Linked DNA regions of Homo sapiens: regions 1 and 3 are each linked to region 2. Evidence: promoter capture Hi-C in human tissues and cell types (Jung and others, 2019). All regions are on one chromosome and are shown on one strand. Each heading gives the region's core, a stretch centred on a gene start or on the middle of the fragment in contact. The rest is flanking DNA. Distances are from core to core; before and after follow the strand shown.

Evidence for each region. The method cuts DNA at HindIII sites, captures the fragments that hold promoters and counts their contacts. A contact is called where the count stands out against the background at its distance.
Region 1: a fragment that was not itself captured here is called in contact with the fragment with the promoter of SALL3 in region 2 in 3 of the 25 tissues and cell types used here (adrenal gland, pancreas and spleen).
Region 3: a contact is called between a fragment that was not itself captured here and the fragment with the promoter of SALL3 in region 2, in 6 of the 25 tissues and cell types used here (IMR-90 fibroblasts, adrenal gland, bladder and 3 more).

Annotation. Positions count from the first base shown.
Region 1 is chr18:78,934,799-78,938,490 of GRCh38, reverse strand. No RefSeq gene overlaps it. Among named protein-coding and RNA genes, the nearest start is that of LINC01896, 43 kb to the left of the region's middle. RefSeq lists enhancers at 2,350-3,317, 3,318-3,692. The HindIII fragment of the contact is 3,911 bases long and covers 1-3,338 here.
Region 2 is chr18:78,978,100-78,981,654 of GRCh38, reverse strand. It overlaps SALL3 (spalt like transcription factor 3), which reads right to left and starts at 1,837. Exons shown (of 3, transcript NM_171999.4): 1 at 1,299-1,837. The coding sequence starts at 1,380. It overlaps LINC01896 (long intergenic non-protein coding RNA 1896), which reads left to right and starts at 1,964. Exons shown (of 5, transcript NR_187297.1): 1 at 1,964-2,615; 2 at 2,917-3,192. RefSeq lists an enhancer at 1-420. The HindIII fragment of the contact is 21,440 bases long and covers 1-3,555 here.
Region 3 is chr18:79,013,551-79,017,267 of GRCh38, reverse strand. All of the region lies in intron 2 of LOC105372225 (a long non-coding RNA gene), which reads left to right. Among named protein-coding and RNA genes, the nearest start is that of SALL3, 36 kb to the right of the region's middle. The HindIII fragment of the contact is 9,218 bases long and covers 1-3,717 here.

The sequences.
Region 1 (3,692 bases), core at 134-2,633, 43 kb after region 2:
CCTTTGAAAAAGGCAGCTATGATTCAGAGAAGCCAACAATCATAGATATTTATGAGATAATTGGGGCATTTGATAATATGAAGACACTTGTTAGGTATTTAAGATGTGATAGGCCAGGCGCGGTGGCTCACACCTGTAATCCCAGCACTTTGGGAGGCCGAGATGGGCAAATTACCTGAGGTCAGGAGTTCGAGACCAGCCTGGCCAGCATGGTGAAACCCCGTCTCTACTTAAAATACAAAAAATTATCTGGGTGTGTTGCTACGCACCTGTAATCCCAGATACTTGGGAGGCTGAGGCAGGAGAATCGCTTGAACCCGGGAGGCGGAGGATGCAGTGAGCCAAGATCGTGCCACTGTACTCCAGACTGGGGGACAAGAGCGAGACTTTGTCTCAAAAAAAAGAAAAAAAAAGTGATGATGATAGGATTAGGTTAAACAAGCAGAGGTGTTTGCCAATGAGATAATATGCCCGGGATTTGCTTTAAAACAACACAAAGCGGGCCAGGCACAGTGGCTCATGCCTGTAACCCCAGCACTTTGGGAGGCCGAGGTGGGCGGATCACAAGGTCAAGAGATCCAGACCATCCTGGCCAATGTGGTGAAACCCCATCTCTACTAAAAATACAAAAATTAGCTGGGCATGGTGGTGCATGCCTGTATTCCCAGCTACTTGGGAGGCTGAGGAAGGAGAATCGCTTGAACCCGGGAGGTGGAGGTTGCAGTGAGCCGAGATTGCGCCATTACACTCCAGCCTGGCAACAGAGCAAGACTCCATCTCAAAAAAAAAAAAAAACCCAAAAAACCCCAACCAACCAATCAACCAACCGAACAAGCAAAAAACACAGAGCGGGTGGAGAATTGGGGAGCATGAGCTGAATCGCCCGTGTGTCGACAGCAGCAGAAGCCGGGTGGTGACGGGCGCTCCGGCTTCGCTGTATTGATCCATCCATCTTTATGCATGTTTGGAAATTTTTGTAAGATGTTTGTTTGTTAAAGGTCAGCTATTACCCATGGTGACAGACCTGAGATCAAGCTCAGTGGTCTGGCCCCTGGGCAACCACCAGCCCCATCTCTTCACAGCTGAGATCAAGCCAAGTGGTCTGGTCCCTGGGCAACCACCAGCCCCATCCCTTCACAGCTGAGATCAAGCCGAGTGGTCTGGTCCCTGGGCAACCACCAGCCCCATCTCTCCACAGGTTGGTTTGAATTGGGGCAAATGCACATCCCTTGAGAGAAGGGAGTTTGGAATATTCATCCTCTCTGCCTCTTTTCTTTTGCATGTGACTGTCCACCTTCCCAGCTCATCTCCTGTCTTTCGTCAGCACCTGTCTGTGGGGGAAAAGGTTAGGTCAGGTTTTAGTGGGTCATTTCAGATTTTGCAGTAAGACTTGCTACCATTTATTGAACCCAGGTATCACATTATATGTTCTGCATATATTCCCTTTAATCTTCTCAATCATACTGAAATGTAGCTTTCATAACCCAATTTTATGCATGAGAAAACCGAGGTTTGGAGATGGTCTGCACTGAGAGAGGCCGAGCCAGGTATGAGCCTGGGCTCCAGCCCTGCCCTGCCCGTCTCCCGGTTCGTGGCCTTCCTGAGCTCTGGCCCCGCCCTACCTGTCTCCTCTTCCGTGCGGCCTTCCTGGACTGTGCTACCGCCCTGCCCACATCCCTGGCCCGACGTCTTCCTGGTCGGTGCTCCTGCCCTACCCACATCCCTGGCCCTCAGCCTTCCTGGGCTGTGCCCCTGCCCTGCCCACCTCCCTGGCCCTCAGCCTTCCTGGGCTGTGCCCCCGCCCCGCCCACCTCCCTGGCCCTCAGCCTTCCTGGGCTGTGCCCCCTCCCTGCCCACCTCCCCGGCTCTCGGCCTGTGCCAGCAAAGCAGCCCTGCTTCTGCCTCCACAGACACTCAGGTCCCAGGCTGGGCCTGGTCATCCTTGCAGCTGGAAACTCTTGGCGGAGTGTGAGCCCCACTAAGGCCAGGCAGCTAACGTAGATACCTGAGTTTATTCTTTGATCTCCGAGGCAGTCTGGGCCCATGGTGTGGACCTGGAAGCGTGCGTGTGTGCTCACGGGTGGAATTTGGCCGTTAGCTGCACCTGTGCTCCCGCGCTGCCTGGCGGCCATCCCTGATTTCTCTGCCCTGGCCAGGGCGTGCTGATTTGCTCTGGTTCCTTTTTCATTTCTCTGATGGTCGATGGAAACTATTAGTTCATTTCCAGCATTGGACAAATGTCAGTTACTTAGCTAGGGTCACGGGTTTTGATGGGAGAATTGGGCTAATGGTAGTGATGCCAGTGATTTCTCGGCTGTCATTGTAGATGGCAGAGATATTCCATCTCTCACTGAAGGCAGCCCAGTGGATTTTAGTCAAGTTAATTCGAATTGCACTCTAAAGCTAAATGAAATGTTTATTTCTATGTTGGTAAATGGTATAGAAAAAGCTGCTATTGAAATGACATTTATTCATAATTTGGTCTGTTAGGAATATGCACGCTGAATGCTGATTTGTTTACCTAGATGGAAAATTGTCTCTTACGGAGATGAAAAGCATACCAGATTTCAGTTTCTTATGGTGCGTGTGTGTGTGTGTATGTGTGTGCGCACCTGCTCACACATTGTGCGAGCACTCACCACACTGAAGGGGTTTTGTAGACATTGCTTCACGATTCTCACACCTCCACCTGAGGTTTGTGATACTGTCCCTTTGTTGTCACCATCACTGCAGCTGTTGTGCAGACAAAACCACTCAGCTTCCTGAGGCCAAGTCACTCACCCAAGGTCACTGGCTCACAGGGCAGGGCTGGGCACAGTCTGGCCAGCCCCCAGTCTCCCGCCCGGTGCTTCTCCCTCCCCATGTCTGAGCCAAAGCCTGCAAGTCCTCATGTTGGCACCCACCCGTCTACCCACATGCACCCCTGGGAGACTGCTGGCTCTGTTCTCGGCTCGCCGTGGAATTTCTCCCAGGGCCACCCATGTTCACACACGGACACAGGGACTCCTGGACCCAAGCAGGCCTATGTATTCGTTCCCCAGATAATCAGAGGCACCGATAAAATAAAGCTTCCAGCTGATGGGCATCCGACAGACAGGGCTGTTAGTTTATGTGGGCTATAGGCAGAGTCGACTGGAAAGTTTTGATCACTTTAATTTACTATATCCAGCATGCCTGCTGTACTCAGCCGGCACTTTTATCAAGCCTTGTGAGGCGGTATTGATTTTTTTATTTTCTGTGTAGGATAAGAAGACAGAGAGTTAGGAACAAGAGTGAATGAAGAACTTTCCTAGATTGCTGCTTTCTCCAGCTTATTGCGCGCTGTCGTTTGTGGTTTCAGATGATGGCCAGTACGTCCGGGCTGCCCGCAGCAATGAGCAGGCTGAATAACAATGGAAGGCCAGACAGGAGAGATTGAAAAAGGAGAAAGAGGCTGCTGGAAAGTGAGAAAGCGCATGTGAGAAACAGGAAAACAGGCCGGGCTGAGGGAAAAGTGTCCAAGGTGTAGGTAGCCCCATCAGCATGTTCCGTTAAAGTCGCTGCAAACTGCCAGGACAGTTTTTCATCGAAGAGTCTGGCTGCAAAGTCTACAGGGAGGAGAACCAAAGCTTCACTTTATCATTTTCTTCCTTAAACGAACAAAAGAACCTCCACCTCCTCACCCCCAGGAAGCCACAACACAGCACAACACA
Region 2 (3,555 bases), core at 588-3,087:
CTCCCTTACCTCCACCGCAACAAAAAGACCCCAGCGAGCTCACTAATTTTATTTAATTCATTAATTCTCCAGCCGCGTCATAAGCATGCTCTCTCGTTCTCATCCGACATGGGTGTCTACCCGCTTTGTCAAACTTTACTCCACTGTGTGGGAAACTCTTCCGCCCCGTTTCCTTTTCGCAGACAGTCTCATTCTCAGAGTAAAAAGATCACCATCTGCCTCCAACAACTTATAACAGGTCAATCATAAAAGTTGGCCTGCCTGTTTTTTTAAGGAGCAAATTATTTTACTGCGAGCTGTGCTGCGGGCTCGGGGTCGTGGGGTCGCCCCTCCTCGGCCCTCTTTCCTGGCGCCCTGGGGGCCCCGCGGGGCGCGCCGAAGCCCGGGCGCCGCCGGCCGAGGTTTTGACTCGACGAAGGGGGTGGGGGCGCCCCAAACTTTGCGGGGCTAAGGCGCCACTCTGGGAAGTCCAGCCCTTTGCCAGTCTCTTAACTTTCGCGGCGCCTGCCCTTTGCTCTTGGATGTTTCGAAGAGGACGCTCCTACCAGCGAAATGACTGCAAAGCCGAGGTCTCCAGCGCCCGGCCTCGGCGGATCCAAAAAGACGGGAGAGAAAAGGCCCGCGCAGACGCTGCAACGAACGCCCCGGAAACACGCCGCGAGCAGGGGCCAGGCCCAGGCCGCCGCCGCTGCGCTCACCCCCAGCTTAATTCCCCGGGCGGCCATTAGGCAGAGCCAAGCCCCCGACCTTCTCCTCGCCTCGCGAGGGATCACAGGCTGCGTCAACGCGCTGGGACACCGCGGGTCACCCGAGGCGGTGCGGGGGCCCGGGAGGGGCCGCGGGCCCCCGAACAAAGCTGGCCGGGCGGCGGGGTCCCCAACCCGCGTCCAGCGGTAGGTGGGCTGCGGTCGCCTTCCCCGCCGCCGCCGGCCTCAGCGTCCTGGCGCAGAGACCCTGGGGGGCGGCGCGGCGGCGGAGGCACCGTGGACTCCCTCCCGCCCCGGCCTCCGAGCCGTCCTCGAGCCGGCCGCGGCCTCGGCGCCCTTCGCGGGCAGCTCCCCGACTCCGAGGAGAGGAGCCAAGTTTACTTCGCCCACAACTCTCTCGGCGGCCGCGCGCGCTCCGGCGAAGTACCCGGGGCCCCGCGGCCGGCCTGGCGCGGGGCGGACGCTTGCCCGCAGGAAGCAGGGAACTTTCTCCCGCTCCCGGACGCGCGCATCCGCTCCCGCCGCACGCGCTTCCCCAGCCCGGACGGGCAGCCCCAGACCCCCCGGCCACCCCGCAGCCCCGGCCCTCACCGTGCTCGGGAGCCCCGTCAGGCGGCAGCAGCTCCTCGTCCGACTTGAGGTGCTGGGGCTTGGCCTGCTTGCGCCGAGACATGCTGCTAGCGGCGCTCGGGCCCCGCGCGGGGCAGCGGCATCAGCGGGGCGGCCGGCGGGGACGGCGCGGGGCGGCCTGGCGGGCGCGCGGCGCGGGGCGCGGGGCGGCGGCGGCTGCGCGGGCCGCGCATGGGGCTGAGCAATTAGGCTGGTGAATAATGCATGGCCATTAGCGGAGGGCCGCGCCGATTGGCCGGGCTCCAGCGGACTCCGGCGGCCTATGCAAATGAGGCCGCGCTCGCAATTAGCGGCCGCGCCGACGAGGAGGGGGCCGCGGCGCCTCGGGACCGGGGCGCGCGCTGCCCGGCGCCGCCTCACATCGCGGGCTCCGGCGCCGCGCTCCTCGGCCGCCCCGGGTGCGGCTGTGGCGGGGCCCGGGTGCGGCGCGGGCCGCGGTGGCCGTCCCTCCGCAGGGCGCAGGCAGCAAACTTTGGCGGCGTCCGCGCGGCGCCGTCTCCGCCGGCGCGCCGGGCTCGCCCCTTTATAGAGTGTCTGCGCCGCCGCCCGCGCCCCCCCCGCCGCCGCCGCCGGGCGGCCCCTCCCGGAGCGAGCGGCCGCGGGCAGGGCTCCGACCCGGCGCCTTTGTCTCGCCCGGGCCGCTCGGGCGCCGCGCCTCCTGTTCCGGGCGCGCGGGGTCGGCCGGCCGCCTTCGCTGCTCCGCCGCGGCTCTCAGCGCCGCTCAGCGCGGCGGGCCCGCCCGGGCTCAGGTGCCCCCCGCTCTCCGGACCTTCTCGCCCGGCCCCGCGTCCCCTCCGCGGGCTTCCCCCGGCGGCCGGCCGGGCTCGGAGGCTCGCGGCCGGAGCGGAGCGGAGTGCGCACGCCGGGGTGGCAGGACTTCGGCAAGACCAACTTTCCGGTTCGGAAGCGGCGCGGGCCGCGCGGCTCCTCCCCTCCTCTCCCTCCCCTGCGTTCCCCCTCCCTTCCACTCCCCCCTCTCCCCGCCCCCCAACCCGCGGGCCCCACCGACTCCGGAGCGCCCGCCCCGCCCGCTGCTGCCACCGGGCCGCCTCGCCCCCGCGCCAGCCCGCCTGGGCCTCTGCGCCGCCGGCGGCTTCTTAAATACAGGAAAGGGAGGGGACCGCAGGGCCCCGGTGTTCCCCACCCTAGTCCCCCTTCACCACGGGCCACCGGGCGCCAGCGGAGTGGGCAGCGAGCGCGACCGAAAGTTCCAACTCCACCAAACTCCCGCGCGCGGCCCACCCTTTCCCGGGATTTCGGGGATGACACGGGGGCCAGGTGAGGGGGCTGCGCACTTCTGGATCGGCCCCACACACTCGGCCCCTGGCGCGGCGCGCTCCCCGCACACGCGCCCGCCCCCTCCCCGCGGTCACACGCACGCGCCCTCGCCCTCGCCCCGCGCGCACAGGCGCGTACTCCCACCCGCGGCCGTGCACCCGCCGCGCTCCTTCCCGCGCGTGTCCTCTCTCCCCGAGCGGCCGCCAGGATGTGCCCCCGGCCCCGTCGTCGCCGCGCCCGCGCCCCTCGCCCCAGTACGTCTTTTTTCGTTTCCTAAATTTCTTATTTTTGTCCTTGCAAGTGGTCCTGTCTGGTGTGAACCGTCAGCACAGATGGCCTCCTGGAGCTTCCCCGAGTCGTTCGCTGGGGGAAGCGGGCGGTGAGCGGCCAGCCCGGGCGCTCCGCAGGCCGCGAGCTCCCGGCAGGGCTGGTGGCGGGGGTCCGCCTGGGGGAGGAATCCCCGCCTGCTCCATCGGACCCGGCCTGGCGCGGCTCGCGGCGCTCGGCGGGCTCCCTTCCATTCTAGAATCTTCCCGCTTGCTTCCCAGCCCGCGTTCTTCCGCCTGCCTTTAATTGTGTAAGTTTGACGAAGTCAGAGCTTTGGGTTCCAGGAAAAGCGCAGGAGGGTCATAGAGGAAGGGAGGGCGCAGGTTGGAGTCAGGTCCAAACAGTCCCTATCGCCACTTTTGAAAAAAAAAAAAAACAACAAAAACCCTTAAGGTTGGTTTTATTTTGCCTTTTGGTAGCGGGCGTATTCATTTAGATTTTTTTTTCAAGACAGGCAAATAAAAGGTGTTTGAAATCTCTAGTTATCCCGTTTAACACACCCATCGATGGCGCTTTTCTAGTTAAGCTACGGGGGAAACGTCTTTATCCCGCAGTTAGGCTGCGAACTTGTGCAGATGCTCAGGCTTTGTGGAGACGCTCCGGCATCTGGCGC
Region 3 (3,717 bases), core at 818-3,317, 35 kb before region 2:
CCACACCCGGTCATGTGGTGTGTTTGATTTAAGTTGTAAGGAGGGGACTGATCACACACCCGGTCATGAGGTGTGTTTGATTTAAGTAGTAAGGAGGGGACTGATCCCACACCCGGTCATGAGGTGTGTTGGATTTAAGTAGTAAGGAGGGGACTGATCCCACACCCGGTCATGAGGTGTGTTGGATTTAAGTAGTAAGGAGGGGACTGATCACACACCCGGTCATGAGGTGTGTTTGATTTAAGTAGTAAGGAGGGGACTGATCACACACCCGGTCATGGAGTGTGTTTGATTTAAGTAGTAAGGAGGGGGCTGATCACACACCCGGTCATGCAGTGTGTTTGATTTAAGTAGTAAGGAGGGGGCTGATCACACACCTGGTCATGCAGTGTGTTTGATTTAAGTAGTAAGGAGGGGGCTGATCACACTCCCGGTCATGCAGTGTGTTTGATTTAAGTAGTAAGGAGGGGGCTGATCCCACACCCGGTCATGCAGTGTGTTTGATTTAAGTAGTAAGGAGGGGACTGATCACACACCTGGTCATGCAGTGTGTTTGATTTAAGTAGTAAGGAGGGGACTGATCACACACCCGGTCATGCAGTGTGTTTGATTTAAGTAGTAAGGAGGGGGGGACTGATCACACACCCGGTCATGGAGTGTGTTTGATTTAAGTAGTAAGGAGGGGGCTGATCACACACCCGGTCATGGAGTGTGTTTGATTTAAGTAGTAAGGAGGGGGCTGATCCCACACCCGGTCATGCAGTGTGTTTGATTTAAGTAGTAAGGAGGGGGCTGATCACACACCCGGTCATGGAGTGTGTTTGATTTAAGTAGTAAGGAGGGGGACTGATCCCACACCCGGTCATGGAGTGTGTTTGATTTAAGTAGTAAGGAGGGGACTGATCCCACACCCGGTCATGCAGTGTGTTTGATTTAAGTAGTAAGGAGGGGGCTGATCACACACCCGGTCATGAGGTGTGTTTGATTTAAGTAGTAAGGAGGGGGCTGATCACACACCCGGTCATGGAGTGTGTTTGATTTAAGTAGTAAGGAGGGGACTGATCCCACACCCGGTCATGCAGTGTGTTTGATTTAAGTAGTAAGGAGGGGGGGACTGATCACACACCCGGTCATGGAGTGTGTTTGATTTAAGTAGTAAGGAGGGGGCTGATCACACACCCGGTCATGGAGTGTGTTTGATTTAAGTAGTAAGGAGGGGGCTGATCCCACACCCGGTCATGCAGTGTGTTTGATTTAAGTAGTAAGGAGGGGGCTGATCACACACCCGGTCATGGAGTGTGTTTGATTTAAGTAGTAAGGAGGGGGCTGATCCCACACCCGGTCATGGAGTGTGTTTGATTTAAGTAGTAAGGAGGGGACTGATCCCACACCCGGTCATGCAGTGTGTTTGATTTAAGTAGTAAGGAGGGGGCTGATCACACACCCGGTCATGAGGTGTGTTTGATTTAAGTAGTAAGGAGGGGGCTGATCACACACCCGGTCATGGAGTGTGTTTGATTTAAGTAGTAAGGAGGGGGCTGATCCCACACCCGGTCATGCAGTGTGTTTGATTTAAGTAGTAAGGAGGGGGGTGATCCCACACCCGGTCATGCAGTGTGTTTGATTTAAGTAGTAAGGAGGGGGGGACTGATCACACACCCGGTCATGCAGTGTGTTTGATTTAAGTAGTAAGGAGGGGACTGATCCCACACCCGGTCATGCAGTGTGTTTGATTTAAGTAGTAAGGAGGGGACTGATCCCACACCCGGTCATGCAGTGTGTTTGATTTAAGTAGTAAGGAGGGGACTGATCCCACACCCGGTCATGCAGTGTGTTTGATTTAAGTAGTAAGGAGGGGGGGACTGATCACACACCCGGTCATGGAGTGTGTTTGATTTAAGTAGTAAGGAGGGGGCTGATCACACACCCGGTCATGGAGTGTGTTTGATTTAAGTAGTAAGGAGGGGGCTGATCACACACCCGGTCATGAGGTGTGTTTGATTTAAGTAGTAAGGAGGGGGCTGATCACACACCCGGTCATGGAGTGTGTTTGATTTAAGTAGTAAGGAGGGGACTGATCACACACCCGGTCATGCAGTGTGTTTGATTTAAGTAGTAAGGAGGGGACTGATCCCACACCCGGTCATGCAGTGTGTTTGATTTAAGTAGTAAGGAGGGGACTGATCCCACACCCGGTCATGCAGTGTGTTTGATTTAAGTAGTAAGGAGGGGGCTGATCACACTCCCGGTCATGCAGTGTGTTTGATTTAAGTAGTAAGGAGGGGGCTGATCCCACACCCGGTCATGCAGTGTGTTTGATTTAAGTAGTAAGGAGGGGGCTGATCCCACACCCGGTCATGGAGTGTGTTTGATTTAAGTAGTAAGGAGGGGACTGATCACACACCTGGTCATGCAGTGTGTTTGATTTAAGTAGTAAGGAGGGGGCTGATCCCACACCCGGTCATGCAGTGTGTTTGATTTAAGTAGTAAGGGGGGAACTGATCCCACACCCGGTCATGCAGTGTGTTTGATTTAAGTAGTAAGGGGGGAACTGATCCCACACCCGGTCATGCAGTGTGTTTGATTTAAGTAGTAAGGAGGGGGCTGATCACACACCCGGTCATGAGGTGTCTTTGATTTAAGTAGTAAGGAGGGGGCTGATCACACACCCGGTCATGCAGTGTGTTTGATTTAAGTAGTAAGGAGGGGGCTGATCACACACCCGGTCATGCAGTGTGTTTGATTTAAGTAGTAAGGAGGGGGCTGATCCCACACCCGGTCATGGAGTGTGTTTGATTTAAGTAGTAAGGAGGGGGCTGATCCCACACCCGGTCATGCAGTGTGTTTGATTTAAGTAGTAAGGAGGGGGCTGATCACACACCCGGTCATGCAGTGTGTTTGATTTAAGTAGTAAGGAGGGGGCTGATCACACACCCGGTCATGCAGTGTGTTTGATTTCTCAGGTTTTTCCAAATCCAATTAATTAGGTGTTCATTTCTAATGTGGCCTTTGAACCAAATACCCGTCGGGCAGGTGGCAGGCATACCCTGGTCCATTCCACGGGAGATGCTCTGGCATAACTCAGGGCCTGGCAGATGTCTGTCCCGCTGCATCTGGAGCAAATGGAGTTACCATTTCCTGTGTTAAAAGTCTCTGTTCAGCTGCCTCAGCAGCGTGTTTCTTTCTGTTGAAAGTCCTTCGCCCTGGCACAGTTTCACATTCCTGCCATGGGTCCCGGAGCCCGGGAAGGTTCTCACTGTCGCTAGGCTGATGGGACTTCAAGAGTTTGCTTTCGGCATTTAAGAAAAATGTTACCTTTATAAAAAGAGTTTTGGTTCTGCTATTATTTCTATTACCCAAAACACACCTAAGTGCTTCAATTATGCAGACATTTAAGAACTTATTGTATATTTTCCTCAACAATTGTTTATGCCCTTTTTGCTGAAGATAAATATTTTATCTCGGCTGTGGAAGTGACTTCTTCAGCACTGAGCTGGATTTACAGCACAAAGGGAAAGAAAGCTTTGGGTGGGAAATGCTGTGTGTATAGGCAAACAGCACACACATTCTTTCACAATTTACAGAAAGTGCTTCTCCTGGGTTTTCAGAAGTATCAAAAGTACATATTTGCCCAGACAATTGTTTACTTGGGAGCTGTGCTGTGTATAGTGATGGTGATTCCTCAATTTTATATCTCCTCCAACATTATTCTGTTTT